Linked DNA regions of Homo sapiens: region 1 is linked to region 2. Evidence: promoter capture Hi-C in 16 types of primary human blood cells and fetal thymus (Javierre and others, 2016). All regions are on one chromosome and are shown on one strand. Each heading gives the region's core, a stretch centred on a gene start or on the middle of the fragment in contact. The rest is flanking DNA. Distances are from core to core; before and after follow the strand shown. Region 1 holds the start of ITGA5 (integrin subunit alpha 5). Region 2 holds the start of LOC107984515 (a long non-coding RNA gene).

Evidence for each region. Contacts are between HindIII fragments. The CHiCAGO score rates a contact against its expected background, and 5 or more counts as called.
Region 1: a contact is called between the fragment with the promoter of ITGA5 here and a fragment that was not itself captured in region 2, in 1 of 17 cell types (non-activated CD4 T cells). The highest score is 5.4, in non-activated CD4 T cells.

Annotation. Positions count from the first base shown.
Region 1 is chr12:54,415,022-54,421,961 of GRCh38, forward strand. ITGA5 (integrin subunit alpha 5) reads right to left here and starts at 4,245. Exons shown (of 30, transcript NM_002205.5): 1 at 3,960-4,245. The coding sequence starts at 4,177. The region is part of intron 2 of GPR84-AS1 (GPR84, ZNF385A, ITGA5 and GTSF1 antisense RNA 1); the gene reads left to right. The HindIII fragment of the contact is 3,058 bases long and covers 1,791-4,848 here.
Region 2 is chr12:54,982,721-54,990,196 of GRCh38, forward strand. It overlaps LOC107984515 (a long non-coding RNA gene), which reads left to right and starts at 2,131. Exons shown (of 2, transcript XR_001749161.2): 1 at 2,131-2,245. It overlaps TESPA1 (thymocyte expressed, positive selection associated 1), which reads right to left and starts at 2,042. Exons shown (of 11, transcript NM_001136030.3): 1 at 1,865-2,042. The HindIII fragment of the contact is 7,487 bases long and covers 2,484-7,476 here.

The DNA of each region.
Region 1 (6,940 bases), core at 2,995-5,494, 570 kb before region 2:
CCTGTAATTCCAGCTACTCAGGAGGCTGAGGCAGGAGAATCGCTTGAACCAGGGAGGTGGGGGTTGCGGTGAGCCGAGATTGCGCCATTGCATCCCAGACTGGGCAACAAGAGCGAAACTCCGTCTCAAAAAAATAAAAAATAAAAATAAAAAGAATGAGAAAAGGAATTCATTATTTCTTACTAAATGCAGGTTGGCAGGTACACTTTTCTGAAATAGAGTCTGAGAGAAGAAATAACTGCCAGAATTTATTCTGAAGCCTCAGAAATGGAAGGGTTGGTCCTTGGAGACACAGACTACCACAGCTAGAAGGCACTGTAGAGAGCATCCACTGGTTTTAAGACTTCACTGTAGGTGCCTGAGGCCACATGGCATAAAGGCAGACTGGCCTCGTTCTGACACTCCCTAAGAAAAAGTTCAAAGCTGCTCACCTCGTCCCATGTTCTCATTCTGCAGATGGGAAAACTATCTCAGAGGAGTTAAGTAATGGGCTTAGGTCACTCATAATCCCTCCCAGAATATGAAGCAGAAATCAGGAATCCTGATTTCTACGACAGCATTCTAGTCTACCCCATTGCCAACTTATTCCCTCCTCTCATATCTGCTATCTCCCCAGCTTTTGATTAACCAAGTCCCAGTTCAATACTGGGTTACTGTTTGACTCTGTTGGCCTGACAAGGTCAGGGGTGGAGAGCAGCAAGTGGACCAGCGCCCAGCTCCTACAGGTCCTACAGCAGCATGGGCCAGGCCAGAGGAGGACACCTGGTTTGGGGTCCCCTAGTGCATTCACAAGGGATATGTATGATTGGCTGGGGAAGAACAGCTGTCTCCACTTGTGGCAGTTGCAGAAGGGAACAAGGAGCTGAGCTGAGACTGGCCTGCCTCTCAAGCTTTCAAGTGTCCTGGGCCAAGTCACTGCCTCTCTTCAAGCTTTGGATTCTCTGGCATAAAATGATGGATTTCCCTTGAATGTTTCCTAAACTAACTTCTGGTTCAAAATTTCTATGACTCCTGAAGCCTCAGTTGTTTTTATTTTTTGTTTGTTTGTTGTTGTTTTTTTGAGATGGAGTCTCACTCTGTCGCCCAGTCTGGGGTCGCTCAGTACAGATGTGATCTCAGCTCACTGCAATCTCTGCCTCCCAGGTTCAAGGGATTCTCCTGCCTCAGTTTCCCGAGTAGCTGGGATTACAGGTGCGTGCCAGCACGCTCGGCTAATTTTTTTATTTTTAGTAGAGATGGGGTTTCACCATGTTGGCCAGGCTGGTCTCGAACTCCTGACCTCAGGTGATCCACCCACCTCCGCCTCCCAAAGTGCTGGCATTACAGGCGTGAGCCACTGCACCTGGCCAGCCTCAGTTTTTGTATATCTAAAAATGGGGCAATAATGCTTCCTTTGCTTTAACACAAGGATTTTTGTTACAATCCAATGGAAAAATCGATATGAAAGTGCTAAAGGAATATGACAGACTATTGTTACTATCACTAGTATAAGCAAATACTCAAAGCAAGTAAGAAATGAGGGAACTAGGCGGTAGCCAGGAAGGAGAGAACCAGAAACAGAAACAGCTACCCCATAAAAACCATGCCGCCCATGTATTGATCACTCTCTGTGGACCAGGTTCCTTTTGTATATGTTTTCTCATTTAGTCCTCAGAACTCCGTTAGTCAGGTGTCTGATTTTCACGGGAAGACCAGGCTCCAAGAGCTTAAATACCTCTCCCTAGGTACTAGGGTACCACGCAAAAAACTAGTAAGTAGTGGGGACTCACACCTACCTCTGTCTGACTGAAAGCTTTGCCCTTTCCTACCATCTAACTGCTTTGGTGCTCGCCCTGTCCTTTAATACTATTTTGGTGTTCACCACAAGAGGTGATGCAGGAAGAACAAGAACACTGAGGCTCTCCCTCTTTGGCAATGGCTGTAGGTGAGGGGCTGTGTTTGTCTTGTGTTGTGGGAAAGGGGGTGAAGGCCTAGCTGTGGTGGGAGGAGGTCACTGGGGAGGTAGAATGTTCCACTGTAAGAGGGTATTGTAAATAGGAAATGAGAGGGAAGGAGTGCAAGCTGGACACCTGGGTTCTCTTGGGAGGGGAGATGAGCAGAAGGGGAGGGGGAAGGGATGAGAGAGCTAGGTCCTGTTTTAGAAGAGGACTTTAGGGACTACAGGATCAGGCCAGGGGCCAGACAGACACCTAGGGGACCAGGAATGTGTGAAGTCCAGATGTTTTAGAGGAGTGTTTTAAAGGGAAATTTAGGGGAGGGGGGAGTAAAGAGAAGGTTAAATGCCAGACAACTAGATACTCTGATCTGCGGGAGGAGACCTCATCCCCTTCCTCCTTCCCTCTTTTCTACTCCATTAGGGCTGTGATAAGAAGTTTGAGGGAACCTGGGGGAGACCAGGCCTGGCAGAGGCTCCAGGCCAGGGTGATGATGCAATGGGGTTTGGGCAAAAGGCCAGGGGGGTGGGGTGGGGGTTGGGTGGGGACCTTGAATAGCCCAGAACAACAGTCGGGGCCTAATCATTTTTCTTTTCTCCCATCCCCAAGTCCTCCAGACAAAGGAGAATTTGCCTTTCTCCCCAGTTGTATTAGCTAGATTAACCCCTTTTCTCCAAAAACTATAGGGACTGAGTAGAGATCAGTTAACTGTCTCATGTGTAAAAACAGGTCGCTTCTGACAGAATTCCCCTCAAACCCTGAGATCCTGGGGTTGGGGTGGGGGTGAGCAGTAGGAAGCTCCCAGCTCAGAGATGTAGAAGAAAAAGGATTACACCAGTCATTGTGGAGGACCAGGAATCTGGCATCTATGGCCTAGCCCAGGAGCAACCACCTACCTCTCTTGCTTCCCAATCTCCCCGCCATCCCACATTTAAACAGACACCCTTGGTTCTAATGTTGCTTCCACTCTAACTCCTGTTTCCCAAGCCTGTCAGTACCCCATTTTCTAGGCACTCGGGGTCCGGGTCTGCTTATCACTGTGCTGAGTTGGGAATAAGGATCCTCCTTTGAGATTTCCAGGGTCCTGAGTCCTTCATTCTGACGTTCTTGGCCCCACGGAGCCCCCGTCTCCCCAGCTTCCGACCCCAGCCCCAGAAGTCCCGGTCTCAGCACAGCTCCAGCCGACCAGCTACAGGAAACCAGCTTTTCTCTTCCTCCCAAGAGCCAGAGGAAGAGGGAAACCGCCCACCCCCCTTCACGCGCGCACACACCCCTCCCGACACATCCCAGCACCCGCCCTTGGCTGAGTTCGCCCCCAGCCCCAGGGCCCCAGTGCCAGGGTCCCCGCACTCGCCCCCAGTTCTCGGATCCCCTCGCCTGAACAGAGATTGGGGGCGGAGGGAGGAGTAGGAGACAGAGGAGAAAGGAGAGGGAGCCGCCGTCCTCTCTCGGGTCTTTCCCCGGTCTGAGTTGAGGGGGGAGGGGAGGATGAGGCTGGCCCCCATTTAACCTTCCGACCCCCTCAGTCTTTGACTTTCCTCCTACTACACGTAGCTCATTCGGCTTCTACCCGTTCTCTCGCCGCACAATGGCCCCTACGGATCCCGAGGTCTCCTGGAGCCCCCAAAAGCCCTTCCCGGCCTCTGCGCCCCCTCTGCGCCCCCACCCGCCCCAGGTCCCAGCAGCCCACAGACTTCAGCCAGAGACCCTCAGCTCTCCATTCACGCGCTCTCCTCTCCCTTGGCCCGGAGACCCCTGCCCAGACTTCTCCAGCTCCGTGTCCTCTCCCCACCGGACACATGTCTCCCCACTGATCTCAAACGCCAGGGCCCCTCCTCACCCGCCACGGTGCCCTCCCTACTCCAGCGCGGGCCCCCAACTCTAGCCAGGGCCCCCAACTGCAGCTCTATTCCTTACAAACTCCACCCTCAAACTTAAGCCCTGGTCCCCTCCAGACCCCAGCCGCGCCCCCAGTCTCCAGGCGGCTCCCCCACCCCCATCCCGTCTCCAGCCCTCCTCACTCACCCGTCTGTTCCCGGCCGGTAAAACTCCACTGAGAATCCGAAGAAGGAGCCCGGGGGCCCCGAGAGTACTGCTGGGGCCTCCGCGTCTAAGTTGAAGCCCCCGACCCTGGGTGGCGGCGGCAGCAGCAGCAACAGCAGCGGCAGCAGCGGGGGTCGGCGCCGGGGGCCCCAGCGCAGCTGCACGGCGTGGAGAGGGGACTCTGGCGTCCGGCTCCCCATAGCGCCCGCTCTTCCCTGTCCTGGGGCCACCGACCCGGAGCCGCTTCCTAAACCTCCCAGAGGCGAATGACTCAACGCGGGGAGGAGTTTGCCAAACTCCCGGCTGAGCCCTCCCCCCGCCTGCCGAGGGGGCTGGCGGGGGGGCATTCCTGGGTCCCTGGAACTCTGAGCCCGCGTCCCCCACCCCTAAGGGGCGTGGGGGGGGGGCGCACCCCTCCAACCCCCTTTCCCCAGCCCCAGCTGGAAGCCGGTTGTCTGGACTGGGTTAGACTGGGCGGGTTTGGGTTCTTCCCCCTCCTCTCTGCTTCCCCCTCCTTCCTCCCCATTCCTTTCCAGATGTACAACGTAAACGCTCGGAAAACGAGTCGGAAAAGGGAGCGGAGAATTTCCTAATGAGGAAAGGAATCACCTCTGGTGGGCGGAGGAAGCCTGTATATGTGTGTGGGGTCTCCCTCAGTGCTTTAGGGAGGAGACTTTGGGGTCTAAAGAGACAGGAGACTCCTCTGGCGTCCGGCCAACTGGGATTCCCCCTTGCCTTCCGGGGCCGCCGGGTGCCTGGGTTCTGGCCAGCTGGATTTGGGACACAACAGTTGAGGTACAGAGACAGCGTTCGCAGTCAGCTTGCTAGAGGACCTACACGGGCTCCTCAAGTTCCGCTGCTTCCTCCTCCAAGCTTGCTAGTATTGAAAACCCAGGAGTTTGGGGTCATTCATCAGGAGGATTCTGCTCCAGTTTGCCCCCTTCTTGGTCCTAGGGTATGTAAACCTCTGCTGAGCCCCTTCCTTGGATCTGACAGTTGACCAAAAGCCTGCGAGTGGCTGGCCCCTCAGTACCTGCTTGATTAAACTGGCCGGGTTCCTACAAACCTGGAGAATTGTGAGAGGTGGTGGTGGTGGTGGAAAGTCTTGCAAAGGGACCCAACCTTCAGCTCCTAATGGCTGTAAACGCTGGGAGCTCTGGCCAGGCACGGTGGCTCACACCTGTAATCCCAGCACTTTGGGATGCCGAGGTGAGCAGATCACCTGAGGCCAGGAGTTCAAGACCAGCCTGGCCAACATGGCAAAACCCATCTCCACTAAAAATACAAAAATTATCCAGATGTGGTGGTCCGCACCTGTAATCCCAGCTACTCGGGAAGCTGAGGCAGGATAATTACTTGAACCCAGGAGGCAGAGACTGCAATGAGCCGCGATTGCACCACTGCACTCTAGCCTGGGTGACAGAGCAAGACTGTATCCAAAAAAAAAAAAAAAAAAAAAATCCAAAAACCAAAAACCAAAAAAACAATGGGAGCGGAAAGCCAGGACCCCATTCTTCCCAGATTCCCCTGTGGAAGTAGAGGAAGGGACTCTAGAAAGGGAAGGCAGTGACCCCCTGCCCACCTCTTCCCCAAGCTCAGGCTCTGTGTGATGAGATCACTTTTCAGGATTCTAGCCTTTATCTTAGTCTGGGGGAGGGGACTACAAGTCCTTTCAGTCTCTTTCCTCCAGGACTCCTCACTTTCCAGAATAATACCCTGTCAATAATATCCTGTCAACCCTGTCCCTTCTGTTCTCCAGTCCCCTGCCCCACTTCGGGCTGAAAGGCTCAGAATAAGAGTGCCCAGAGTCAATGTTTTTTTCCTGCCATGACTCTCCCCCTCACTCTGCTACTCCACTTCCTGTCCCAAATCACCCATCTGCTTTTTTAAAAGCCCCCCTCCAGAGCCAGCTGCAGCCCAAGGGAGAGGCTGGCTGGCCAGACTGTGGGGCAATGCTGGCCCGTATCCCATTCTCACATCTGCAAGTCCTGACCCTTTCTTAGGTGAGGAACCCAGGGAATCTCTGGGTCAGGATCTTTAAGCCCAGCATTGCCAAAAAGGCAACCTTTAGGTGAGAGCTACTCAAGCCATGGGCTGGGAACCCCCTTTGGGAGGAGAAGGGCTGAGGCCTGATTGCTTTTTAGCCCAGCAAAACACGTGTGTGAACCAAACACTCTCCTTTCTCAGTCTAGGCAAACTCTTTAGATTTTCCCAGGATTTGGGAGATTAGGGGTGGGGGTGGGGAGGGGTGCAGGGAAGGAGGTGTGTGACTCAGCTCCTCCCAGGAGCCTTGGTGGGGGACAGGGGACATAGCGTCCTGCCCCAGTCCTCCTCCCCACTCCACCCCTAGCCTTGGCCAACTCAAACAGGCCCCCTCCCTGTCCATTCCCTGCTCCTGTTTACACCGGGAGCCCCTTAGTCATTCTTTGGCTGGCCTTTCTACTCTCCCCAATATCCCTCCTCTCTTGGCTCTTTCTGCCCTTATAAGTCCTCTCCCAGTGGCCCCAACACCTCCTGCCTTTCCTCTCACCATGCCTGCCTTTGCCTGATCCTCTCTTCCTCTGCTCTGGGTTCGTCCTTAACTTGGGGTCCCCTCCTAATTAGAGCTACTTCAGCACAGACCTCCAGGCCTGGAAGCTGACCTAGAAAGGCCAGTGAGGAGGGGATAGAAGCCATCAGTCCAATCTTCTCCTTCAGAAGAGGAAATGGGTGTAGAGAGATGAAGTGATTTGTCCAGGGTCATATGGCTAGCCAGTTAGCGGTGAGCCTAGAACCTAAGTGTTTAGACTCCAGACCCAGTGCCTTCTCCTCTAAGCCCACTGCCCCTCTAAATGATCTATCTCCTCTCAGCTTTTTCTTTCTATCTTGTATATCTCTCAGCCTTTCTCTGGCCAAGTTTGTGTGTCTCCAAGTGCCTCTGCTTTTTCTCTTAAACCTGACCTCTTTGGTACCCTCTGTCCCTT
Region 2 (7,476 bases), core at 4,977-7,476:
ATGAGCAGATTTCTCAACCATTGTGTTAGCTCTGTGAATTCGTATCTTTAATTCTTCAGTTTCATTTCCTTGGTAATAAGCTCTGTCCTGCATATATTCATTTTTCTTCTTTCCTGCTTTTCTTTTTCAATATCTACACACTCTCTTCTCCTCGTCCCTCTACTTATTTGACTGAACTCTTTTCTCAATCTGAAATCTGTGTTTAGGCCATTCTGCATCAGGCCTGGGTGTTGTAAGGCACACAGTACTGTGGGTACTGGAATATCCACTTTGGTCTTGTGCCTTAGGTGGAAAAGAGAACAGTTGTCAGTTTGCAGGTGGAAATAAACGTGTGATCTTTTCCCCTTACTGTAGCCCAGAAGGAATCTTGTAAGTCACAGCATTGGCTGAGACGAGACCTCCATACTAGAATCCAAATCAAACATTGAACTGAAAATGACGGTTGGGGCTTCATGTTCACTACATAATGCTGAATCGCAGGGTTCCATCTTAATTTTCAAAAAACCCAAGAGTTATGAGAACATGTTGGTAGCGTGGTTGTAAATGGTTTCTAAACACCCTGGGGTGCATGCGAATAACTCAGATGTTAAATTGCTTTCTATCCCTTCTGCTATATCTTCAGCTTGTTATTTCTGATAATAGTCCAAGTAGAGACAGACAATAAACCTGACTTCCCTTCTTCCTACTAACACTTCATGCTGCAAGACAATATTGTGAGATCTTTATCTCTAATCACTCAGCTGAACAACTATTGAGTCTGATACTTGGACACACAAGTTGAAGGTTCCTACCTCCAACCTCCCATCCTAGGTACTGCCCTGCACCATCTAGAAAGTCTCCTTACCTCTCTACTCAGGACCATTTGTGGTATACAGAGTCACTAGTACTTCCCTGGATATCTCCTGTAAATGCTCACAGTCTTGTCAAATCACTTCTGTGGAACTCTCCTTTCTTGTCCTTGCCCTGCCCTGGGGACCCACCCTTTTTCTTCCACCCACTGGTGAGCTTAGTGGCACAGAAGGGGCATGGGAAAACCCCAGGGTGGAGGATCTTTCCACTCCTCCATCTACCCCAAAACTCATGTAGGTGGTGATATGCTCTGCCTGCTACCACTGGGGCAAGGGGTGTTGGAGGAGCATGAAGCCCCCAATATTATGTAGGTCACTGAGAAGGCAACACATCCATCTATCTATCTTTGAGATGTGAACCCTGAAATCTGGTCCTGATGGTGGCTATCCATCTATCTTGAGCCTCCCGGTGAATTTGACCTTACCTCACTCAAGTGTGTACATCCTCCCTCGTAGCTGACCTCAATATATCTTGCTGCAGTTTATCTCAACAAGTTTCTTCTACAGCTTCTGAAGAAAGAGGTCATACCCACAGAAAGCAAAGTTGATTTCAGCCAGGTACTCTCAATGGTTGGAGCTATGGACACTAGAGTAGGGCCTGAAATGAAACCGGGAAACTTCTTCCTTGAGAACTTTTCGATGTTATAATCAGATGGAAATTGCAGCAACAATGAGTTCAGCAAGACACAGAGAAGAACTTTGCAGGTGAGAAAGGTGAAAAAAAATTCCTAAAATGTTATTCAAGTCATCAAAGAGACCCAAGTTTTGAGAATCTAGAAAGATTACCTCTCTGATAATAAAGAGAAAACAAACAAACGAAAGCAAAAGGGCACCCAGCATCGTTCTCCTAGGCATAATGATGGATGCTTTTAAGGTTGAAGTAAGAGTGGTGGGAGATTTTCTCTTGATTTTCCCTTGACTTGACAGCCTGATTTTTCTCTGACATGTTTCCTTCTTTCTCCTAGCATCACCCTAAATCAGTACAGCCTTGAAACTGAGATAAAGGCTGTGCTTACCTGTCTGCTGGTAGAAAGCTGAGTTTGAGGCAAAGCAGTTGTCGAAGCTGGGCCGAGGCCTTCACAGGTGTGGGCACAGAGGTGAAGCAAGTGAGAAAGTATCATGTTGTAGATTATGCCTTTCTCCCTGAACTCATTCAACTGCTGTTGCCTGCTCAAAAGGGGAAGCGGAAATGAGAACACACCACACACACACACATCCACACATGTAGATGCAGTCCCCGCCTCCTGGCCCAGCCACATCCTTTGCTCCGGCTCAGGAGACTGAGCGAAGGACAAACCATCCGTAGACACGGTGCTCACAACTAGGAAGACCTTCCTGCCCCAGAGCTGCCTCTGTCTTTCCAGAAAAACAGGAGATCTTTTCCTATTAAGGCAAAGGTACAGTCCATTTAAAGAGGTGTGTGCAGGAGTCTTCCTACCATATAACTAGAATTCCACTGCTGCAGATAAATCCTTCTGTCCTCAGGAGAGCTGTCTGAAAATGGGAAAGCTCTCTCTCATAAATGATCTGGCGTTTATCTCAGAGAAGAAGTTTCCAGTCGTATCACACACTTGAGAGGGCTCTGAGCCAGTCGCTCTGTGTTGATAACTTTCATACTCTGGTAAATTCCCCCGAAGCTTGTTTTTGAATACTGACTACTTTTTTTTTCTGTTAGTTTCTTAACTTTGTTTTATGTTCAAACCACTTCAAAGTTTTTGTTTTTGTAGTAAATGACTGCTTTCCCCAACGTTTTCAAAGCTGAACTTTTAAAATCGGTTACACCCTGAAGATGTCTTCAGTTTATTGGTTTTCAGTTTGGAAAAGGCTTGTTGAACTCTAAAAGGTTTCTCCCAGGCCTCAATCACTTTCACCCACCGGGAGCATCCAGCACTGCTAACTATCCCTCCTCGCTTCTCCAGTATCTCTGAACACTCTTCTCCGTAGGATGCTGCTGCATTTTGGATATCTTCTTTCTGTCTCTCTCCTGATTCTACTGTTTCCTTCTTTAAATCATTTATTTATGAATGTATATCACAATATTTATTCTACAAGGCACTCCTCTAATGTGTTAATTGTGACTGATTTTCACATGTTCATTACCTTCTTTCTGATTTTTTGGCTATAGGTATAGTTAGATTTTTTTTTTACCATGTTTCTAAATTCCATTTCCAATCATCAATGGGACAACTCCATTGAGTATCCATAGTATAGCTATAATATGGTAGAAATAATCCTAAATAAAATTCTTGCTTGGCAAATTAAGTTCTCAAAACATTATTTTCTTCAAGTATAATGTGAGGAAAATAACAATTCTCTCTGTTTCTCACTCAACCCTTCTCCCACGCTATTCCTTTTACGTAGGCATGAAAATATCTAACATATTTTCTCAGGACATAGTAGATGCTAAATATGTGCTTCTCTGAGAATTAGCTTCACAGTCAACAAGTAAAATGCTAAATCCAACACGCCCTAATTCTCTTTATTTACTATTCTTTTCCGTACAAATTAACTATAAAAGCTGAACTAATGGAAACTTAACAACTCTTTTAAATCCTAAGTTTCTAGAATTCAATGTTTTCCTTAACAGTTGTTTTCCAATATGTTTGGGAAATGGAGAATATAACTTCGGTAGGGAGTTTGGAAATATGTGAGAGAGATTTAATTTTCAAAGAAATGGGAAGCTGATACTGGTATTTAGTACCTGAGGGCCAATGATGATAAGTGCTTTTGAAGGGATGGGACTCTTCAGTATAAGGAATAATTGTCCTGGCCCAAATGTCAACATTTTGTTAACATTGATAGTTTGATGGTTAGGAGAGCAGGCTTTAGAGTGAAGCTCTGGCATCAAGTAGCTCTGTAGTCTTGGATACGTTAACATCTCTAGGTCTCAGTTTGTTAGCTGCTAAATGGGGATAACCTTACAGGAGTGGTTGTAGAGCTATAAGAATAAAGGAATACAGAGTATTCAGTCCAGCGCCTACCTTACAGCAAATGCTCAAGAAATTGCAGCTATTTTTAAGACTCTTGAAATATAATAGTTTCTTTTAACTTTTATTTTAAGTTCAGTGGTACATGTGCAAGTTTGTTACATAGGTAAACTCCTGTCATAGGGGTTTGTTGTACAGATTATTTCATCACCCAGGTATTAAGCCTAGTACCCAATAGGTATTTGTTTTGATCCTCTCCCTCCTTCCACCCTCTACCCTCCCATAGGCCCCAGTGTGTGTTGTTTCCCTCTATGTGTCCATGTGTTCTCATCATTTAGCTCCCACTTATAGGTGAGAACATGCGGTATTTGGTTTTCTGTTCCTGTGTTAGTTTGCTAAGGATAATGGCCTCCAGCTCCATCCATGTTGCTGCAAAGGACATGATCTCATTCTTTTTTATGGCTGCATAGTATTCCATGGTGTATATGTGCCACATTTTCTTTATCCAGTCTATCATCACTGGGCATTTGGGTTGATTCCATGTCTTTGCTATTGTGAATAGTGTTGCAGCAAACATACATGTGCTCGTGTCTTTATAACAGAATGATTTATATTCCTCCAGGTATATACTCGGTAATGGGATTGCTGAGTCTAAAGATATTTCTGTTTTTAGGTCTTTGAGCAATCGCCACATTGTCTTCCACAAGGGTTGAACTAATTTACACTCCCGCCAACAGTGTATAAACATTCCTTTTCCTCTGCCACCTCGCCAACATCTTTTATTTTTTGACTTTTTAATAATAGCCATTCTGAGTAGTGTGAGATGGTATCTCATTGTGGTTTTGATTTGCATGAAATATAATATTTTCAGTTTCTGCAGAATACTATGTCTATCTGTCAAAATTACCTCACTCATTAAAGATACCATTTCACAAGCAATTGCTAGAGATTTTTTTGTTAATAAAAAAGATGTATTAATTTTTGGTTTTTATTTATATTTATTCTTAATTTTTATGAGTACATATGTAGGTTTATATGTTTATAGTATTTGTGATTTATTTTTTGAAAGAAATATTTTTCTCTTCTACAAGCAGCTTCTGAAAGACAAAGATGAAGACTATATGATTCCTAGGAGGAGGAGGCGGCCCAGGGTATTCCTCTGTTTATCTTCTTTCTCAGTTGTATAGTCTTTCTCTTTCTTTCTTTGTTTCTTTCCTTCTTTCCCTTCCTTCCTTCCATTCCTTTTCCTTCCTTCCTTCCTTCCTTCCTTCTTTCCTTCCTTCCCTCCTTTCCTCCTTCCCCTTTCTCTTTTTTCCCTCTCACCTGCCCTTCCCACCCTTTGAAAACATTGTCTCTATATCTTTGGCACCATGAACTTCTCTGAGCATATATTCCAGGTGCTTCATGAAAACAAAATGACTTGTTCTTTTTATACGAGACGCAGTAGTTCAGGGTTTCTGAAGGTTTTTTTGTGAGCTTGTTCATTTTTTTTCCCTTGGTTAAAAATAAAAACCCTTATGCTAACTGAGATAATGAATTAGCTCTCTACTGCCTATGTGATTCAGCAGTTTGGTGCCTCATGATAGGGCCTATTTGTCATTCCATGGCTCCCTCTCTTGTGTTTTATAGAATTTAGTAAAAACCCTGAACTAGGGGTAAAAGAGCAATCTGAGTTTAAAACTATACTAGTTACTTAATTTCACTGGATATCGGTATCACCTTCTGACAGAGAAATATTTTCTAAGATCCTCTTGGCTTTAGATGTCAGTAACACCTGTACAGACTATTTTTCTCTACCCTTTTATAACTGCATGTAGTTTATTATGGAAAATGAAAATATTAAGTGATATTTGGTAAGAAATTATTATAAAGGTATTAGAAAAAGTATTTTGAAAGACTCTTTTCCATTGAAAAGCCAAGTAAATATTGCTTTTGAATAATATTATCCTCTAGACATGTAACCTGATAACACTGATAAATAAGAACAATTTCTGAACACTGATGAGCCCATCAAACAGATGGGCTGTAGTGAGTATAAGTTCTGGAGCTGCAGAACTACAGGCTGAGCTGGCAGGTTGCCCAGACCTGGGGCAGAGCCAGGACAGCTGTCCATAGAGGCTGTCCCAAGACAGAGAAGCTGCTGCTCAGAGCCACTGCTCTGGGCCGAGCAGCTGGGCCCCTCTGCCCAGGCCCAGATGCAAATCATCTGCCTCCATTTCAGCTCTCAACCTTCTTCTTTCTCAGATCCTGGGGTTTGCAAATGCCATTTTTGTTTTGTTTTGTTTGGCTGTTTTGTTTTTTTTGCTAAGAGTCTGTTCCTCCAAATTGCTGATGTGGGAATTTGAGTGACTTTGTCTCCTTCCTGTACCAAAGGCTCAAAAGTAGAAAGAGAGAGTGGATAGAATTGTAGGGGAGAGAGCAGTGATTTAACTCACCAAGGATTTTCTGAACTTTCTCCAGGCAGAAAAGTGTCCACCAAGGTCATCTTGTTCTTTTCTCTGCTTCTATGTTCTGGTTGTTAAGGATACAAACAAATGGGATTCTCTAACTTTTCTAACCTACCCATTCTACTAAATTACTCCACTCAATGCCAGAAAGTTCTTCCTTCTGTCTGGCTGTATCTTCCCTCTGTAAGAGTCCAGCAAAACAGAAGAGCAATCCATCTCAGGCCTCTGCAGAGGGTGTTCTTTCAGTGATCTGGATTGTAATTCTACCCAAAATGTATTTTATTGGATACCTTCTGAGTGTCAGAAATGAGATAGATCTGGGGAAGGGACTGAGGGGAGTATAGAAGGAGAGGAAGATATACAAGGGGGAGAAACAGTATCAAATACTGTCCCTTAGAGGGCTTATTTTCTAGTATGATCAAGTAATTTGGGGAAATACAGGGTTAACAAAAGACAAACATGTTCCTTTAAGGCAGTGGTCCCCAACCTTTTGGCATCAAGGACTGGTTTCATGGAAGACAATTTTTCCATGGGAGCAGGGTGAGGGGGAGGGTTTGGCGATGAAACTGTTCCACTTCAGATGATCATGCCTGCCACTCACCTTCCTGCTGTGAGGCCAGGTTCCTAACAGGCAACCAAACTGTGCTGGTCTGTGGTCCAGGGGTTGAGGCCCCCTGCTTTAAGGCATAACTTCTTGAGGCTTTTAATAGATTAACATGAATTGTGACTCTCCTAGAAGGAGAAAGTTTTGTATTTCCCAAATGTATTGGCCTATGGATTCCCCTGCCCTCCCCTCCCCTCCCCTCTCCTTCCCTACCCTTCCCTTATCTTTCCTTCCTTCCTTGGAACATCCCAAGGAAATTATTTTGGAAAAGTTTTCTTCCACTACAGCCACTTCTCTGGATTAAATCGTGACATTAACATCTTTGATTATATTCAGATGGCTATGAACACAGGATTGAATTCTCAGTGAGCCTATGTTTCATCTTTCTTTTGATCAAGCCCATTTAACTCAGAATCACAGGTCTTAATTGAGTTCTTCTGTGTGATTTGCATGGTGAGTGCTCAGTGTTTTGTAAGCCCATGGAGGAGGACAGAGCCTGGATGTGGGTGTAAGTGCAGTGGAGGAGGAGAGATCTGAGGGTTTCATAGGATGGGAGGCAGGAGACTTTCAGGGCTAGAGAGAGATCTATCAAGAAAAATCTCATGGACTTGACAAACAAGAAATGTGGAAGAGTTTTAAAACTTGATCTC